Linked DNA regions of Homo sapiens: region 1 is linked to region 2. The links are contacts of gene promoters, found by promoter capture Hi-C in human tissues and cell types (Jung and others, 2019). All regions are on one chromosome and are shown on one strand. Each heading gives the region's core, a stretch centred on a gene start or on the middle of the fragment in contact. The rest is flanking DNA. Distances are from core to core; before and after follow the strand shown.

Region 1 (2,721 bases), core at 112-2,611, 1.0 Mb after region 2:
ATTTCCTCAGCTTCATTTCTGTTCAACAACAGCACTTAGTAAAGGGTAATGTATTCTTTTGCAAAATCTTGCTAAGAGGAAAATAATTGCCAAGAGCATCAAACATTGCTAATGTGAAGACACATTAAACTGTAAATATCCTTCAGAAAATGATGAAAATGGCAAAATGAGTAAAATCATATCTTGATTATTGTGTCCAGCTACGTCCCATTTATTTCACCAGGAAGTTCTATGTCTGTCAATCTACCTGGACCCTATTTTCAATCCACAAAATAGATAAGGAACCTAGAAAATTTTGCACTGTGTTCTGTTAATTCACTTTAATCAATAGGGAAAATGACTTGCCCAAATCACGCTGCTGATTTTTGGCAAATGCTCGACTGGAAATCAGGCCTCTTCCGGTATATCCTAAGCCCATAGGTCCTGACCCCATGGCCTCTGATTCTTCCATGCTATGTGAGTATGGACACGTCACTCAACATTTCCTGGCCTCAGTGTTCTTACCTGTAAAATGAAGTTGGAGAATTAGATTAACACAAAATTAGCCCTCACTGTCCCTGATGGTAGCCACGTTTTTCAGTGGGAGAAATGTAGGTCTCACAAGGCTCTGCAACTTGGTAAGTTTCACCTTGCAAGGCAATCTTGCACACATACTCACTTTACATTCTGTCTCATCTGAATAGACTCAGCTTAATGTAGCCAAAAAAAAACAAAAACCAAAACAAAAAACACCCACAGTTGTGACAGCCTGAGGCATCCAGCTACAAGAAAACTCAGTTGACAGGACCCAGTTTAGCTAAATTTGCTTAATCAGAACAACAACAAAAAAAGCCTAGGAACCATAACACTCCTTAAAAAACAAAAAGCAGGTCGGTAACGGTGGCTCATGCCTATAATTCCAGCACTTTGGGAGGCCCAGGCAGGCGAACCACGAGGTCAGGAATTTGAGACCAGGCTAGCCAACATGGTGAAACCCCATCTCTACTAAAAACACAAAAAATTAGCTGGGCGTGGTGGCGGGCACCTGTAATCCCAGCTACTCGGGTGTCTGAGGCAGGAGAATTGCTTGAACCCAGGAGGTGGAGGTTGCAGGAAAAAAAAAAAGCAAACACACACACACACACACACACACACACACACACTCACACACAGAGAGATTTATTAAGCTAATAAGTTTTGGTAAAAGGTCATGATCATTTTTAATTCTGCATGAATCAGTGGATTAGCAACTGTAGACCAAACTCAGTATTAATCTCGCTTGTTGTTAATGATGCTAAAGGATCCTCGGAACCCCTAGAAAGCCAACATTCACTGTGGCTTCTATAGTTAGACATTCAAAACCAGAAGGAACTTTAGAGATCACCTAACACATTAACTTTATAGAAGACAGAAGGAGGCCCACCAGAGCAAGAGTGACTTACCCAAGTTCACACTTGCCTGGGGCAGAGCCAAGATTAAAGGTCAGGCCTCTTGACCCCCAGCTCAGTGGATATTCCTCATGTGAAATGCTAAAGGCTGAAGCCCTGGGTAAAGCCAGATCCACTCATTATGACCAAGGTGAGCCTGAAATAATTCAACAAGAAATGTTGGAAGGCCAATATGCAAAAAACACACCAGTAGCTGTAGGAGACACCTGAGGAGACATGAAATAGAAAATACATTAGAAATAGCTAAGAATGTGAGCAGTGGGCTACAGCTCCAGCCCCCAAGAGTTTGGATAAAATCAAGGGAAACTTTCCCAAGAGAGAAAATACATTGTATTTCCCACCTTAAAAATATATTTTTAAAAATGGTTTTATAAAAGACACATATACCACAAGAGGTGTTTTGGTTTTGTTTTAAAGACAAGGTCTTGCTGTGTCACCAAGGTGGGAGTACAGTGGTGCAATCACAGCACACTGCAGCCTCGACCTCCTGAGTTCAAGTGACCCTCCGCCTTAGCTTCCCTAGTACCTAGGATGGCAGGCACATGCCACTATGCCCAACTATTTTAATTTATTTTTGTAGAGACAGGGTCTTGCTATGTTGCCCAGGCTGGTCTCAAACTCCTAGCCTTAATCGATCCTCCCACCTTGCCCTCCCAAAGTGCTGGGATTACAGACGTGAGCCACTGTGCCCTGCGTACATGAGTCTTTTTTGGTGTTTTAAATAATATTTATTAGGGGTTATCAACTTATCAAAAGGAAACATTCATTGCAGATAAACTTTTTAAAAGACAGAAATAAAATACTCTTAAAATGTTGATATTTCTTCTATTTTTATACATAAATACACTCTTGTTTTTAATTGGGATCACTTGGCATATATTATTTTGTATCTTGCCTGTCTTAATTTTGTCTTGAGAATTTCCCATGTAATTAAAGAGTCTTTGAAAACATCAAGATTCCATTAAATAAGTGTAGTATCAATTATTTAATGCCTTACATGTTGTTAGTCATTAAGTTGCACATTTTTCATGATAAAAAATGATGCTGTGATCATCATATGATTCATAACGTAGGGTTTGAAAATAATGGTCATGGATAAGATAAACTATTCAATAAGGGATGTCAAGACAATAACTAGTCATCTGGATACAAAACTGAGTTGGTTCAGCATTTATACCAGTATAAATTCTCAGTAGTCTGTACTGAGTATTTATACTGAGTATTTAGTAAATTATACTGAGTACTTATGCCAGTGTAAATTCCAAATGACTCAAAGATTGAAATGTTTAAAAAT
Region 2 (2,709 bases), core at 210-2,709:
TGGAGAGGAATTTGATCATTCTCTGAAGGACTTACAAGTTGTTTGGCCTGCCTAATCTGCTCAGATACCGTCCGGGGAATATTTGGTAACCATGCAGTACAGACTGTGAATTATTCTGTGGGGACTATTAACAAGACCCTCACCAACCCTGCCTCAGCTGATCTCAGGGCTTGGGGGCAGCCCCCTCTCCTCCCCTCCCACTGAAGCTCTGAAAAAAAGCAGCCTTTCCCCCTTGGGAGATGGGAGGAGTAGTTAAAAATAAGAAGTGTTGGGGGAAATCCTCCTCCTTCCAAGCACAGCTCACACGGCAGAGCCTCCTCAGAGTTGCGGCTGCGGATGCAATGACTTAGCCAGGTTAACGCCGATCCCATGTTTTCCGAAACCTGGCACCTAAGCATCTAACATGGAAGGCCGACTCCCTAAAATCAGTGCAAGAAAAATGATAACAAGTTATATCTGGAGGGACCTCGGGGATTATCTACCCGCTGGATTTAAAGTTGAGGAAGCCGCGGGCAGCAAACAAGGTCTCACAGTTGCTGGTGGCAGAGTAGAGACCACAGACCAAATTGCCTGAGTCTAAACTCAATGTTCTTTCCCCTTAGACTGCCACCCGCACACACACGCACACATGCACACCTTTTTGGAGGCACTGCACAGCAAGCACAGAAGTACGCCACTGAGTCCTGTGTCCCTAAAGTATTTGACTGTCCCTCCGCTGGGGGAAAGGGCAGGCAGAAAACAAGACTCCGTGTGCTGTCGCTGTGCCGCCCCCTGCCTCTCTGACCCGCGCCCGCAGAGAAAGTCTCAAGAGCCGCCCCAGGCTTTCTCCCACGTTCTCCCTTTCTCTGCTGCAGTTGAGTTTCCAGAGCGTGAGCGCGCAGGATGACACCTGGCTGGCTGAGAGCTGCCGGGGAGGCGCTGGCGGGTGCCGAGAGCGCACTGACCCTGACGCGGGGTGCAGCACGGCTGGGAAGCCCCCGGGCCTTTGGCTAAGCGCGCCGGGGGACGGCACAGGGGGGCGACGCGCATCCACCACCTGGTCCGCGCTCTCCCGGCCTCCGGCAGCTCAGGGCGGGCTCGGTTGGGGACCCTAATGGCTGGGTGCCGGCCCTGGGAGAAGGGCACGCGGAGGGCGGAGGGTTGCGCCTCGGCCCCGGCTCGGCCCCAACGCCCTCTCCCTGGCGCGCAGGTTTAGAAACAGGGCGGCCTCTCCGGCCGCCGCCTCGGCGGCTCGGGTCCCCATATATAGTCATATCCACCGTCAACTGGGAGGCCGGCGGCCGGCAGCGAATGGGCGAGCGGCCCCCGCGGGAGGAGCGGGGAGGGGGCACGGGGCGGAGGGAGGAGAGGAGGAAGGGGGGCAGGAGAAAAAAGCTTTTCCAAAAAAGTATTGGCTGTCTTGAGGAATGCGGTCGCCCCCTTGGGAAAGTACATATCTGGGAGAAGCAGGCGGCTCCGCGCTCGCACTCCCGCTCCTCCGCCCGACCGCGCGCTCGCCCCGCCGCTCCTGCTGCAGCCCCAGGGCCCCTCGCCGCCGCCACCATGGACGCCATCAAGAAGAAGATGCAGATGCTGAAGCTCGACAAGGAGAACGCCTTGGATCGAGCTGAGCAGGCGGAGGCCGACAAGAAGGCGGCGGAAGACAGGAGCAAGCAGGTCTGCGCCTCCCCGGCCCTGCGCCCGCGCCCAGAGCGCCGGGACTCGAGCCTGGCACCCCCGGCTGGATCCCCACCCCGAGGACTCGGGGAGCCACCACCCTACCCCCACCACCACCCAGGGCGGCCAGGGCGCGCGTCTGGAAAGAAGGAAGGGAAACGCAAGAGCCAGGCTTAGTCTAACTTAGTCTGGTCTGAGGACGCTTATTTCCCTTCTCTGGTTCCCATGGCCCGCGAAATCAAGTCCTAGAGGCGCTTTATTCTCAGGACTGGGAATCAGTTTGGGGGAGGGAGGAGGACACCCGGTTCCTGGGGACGTTTGAAGGAAGGGCGAGGGATGGAGAAAGGGGGTCGAGTAACTCAAGTGTTAGAAGTTCGTTGACTTTTGACTGGGGAGAAAGGAACCTTAAACTTGGGGAGGAGAAGGGAGTCCTGGAGTTGTTACCTAAGAACAAAGATGGGGCGGAATGGAGGCTACAGCCCGAAAGCCAGGCCAGCAGTGGCGTTCTTCTGTGTCCCCAAGTAGTGGACTTGAGCCCGCTGAGACCTCGGCAGGAGTCTCGTCCCAGGGCAGGTGGGTGTGCGGGGTGAGCCGCGGAGCGGTTCCAGCTCGGGTAAAGAGGAAGTTACCTCGGGTCCTTTGCACTCCAACTCGGCGGCGCCCCGAGCCCGAGGGGCCCCAGCCAACCCGACGCCCGTGTGTTGTGTGTGTCTAACACCCGGTCCGTGCCGGCCGCCCGCGCCCGCCCGCCGCTGCCCCCAGCTCGAGGAGGACATCGCGGCCAAGGAGAAGTTGCTGCGGGTGTCGGAGGACGAGCGGGACCGGGTGCTGGAGGAGCTGCACAAGGCGGAGGACAGCCTCCTGGCCGCCGAAGAGGCCGCCGCCAAGGTACCCGGGGCGCGCGGCACGGCGTGGCGCACGAATGGCTAACTCTTTCTCTTTCTCTCTCTCCCTCCCTGTCTTTCCCTCTGTCTCTCCCGCTGTCCCTGTCCTTCTGGTTCTGTGCACCCACACCCCTCCCCTTCGGGATCACGCTGCCTGCTGCACCCCCCT

What was found. The method cuts DNA at HindIII sites, captures the fragments that hold promoters and counts their contacts. A contact is called where the count stands out against the background at its distance.
Region 1: a fragment that was not itself captured here is called in contact with the fragment with the promoter of TPM1 in region 2 in 1 of the 25 tissues and cell types used here (lymphoblastoid cells).

Annotation. Positions count from the first base shown.
Region 1 is chr15:64,062,815-64,065,535 of GRCh38, forward strand. No RefSeq gene overlaps it. Among named protein-coding and RNA genes, the nearest start is that of DAPK2, 18 kb to the left of the region's middle. The HindIII fragment of the contact is 3,825 bases long and covers 1-2,721 here.
Region 2 is chr15:63,041,288-63,043,996 of GRCh38, forward strand. TPM1 (tropomyosin 1) reads left to right here and starts at 1,460. Exons shown (of 10, transcript NM_001018005.2): 1 at 1,460-1,656. The coding sequence starts at 1,543. RefSeq lists enhancers at 404-1,318, 2,232-2,709. The HindIII fragment of the contact is 3,976 bases long and covers 1-2,522 here.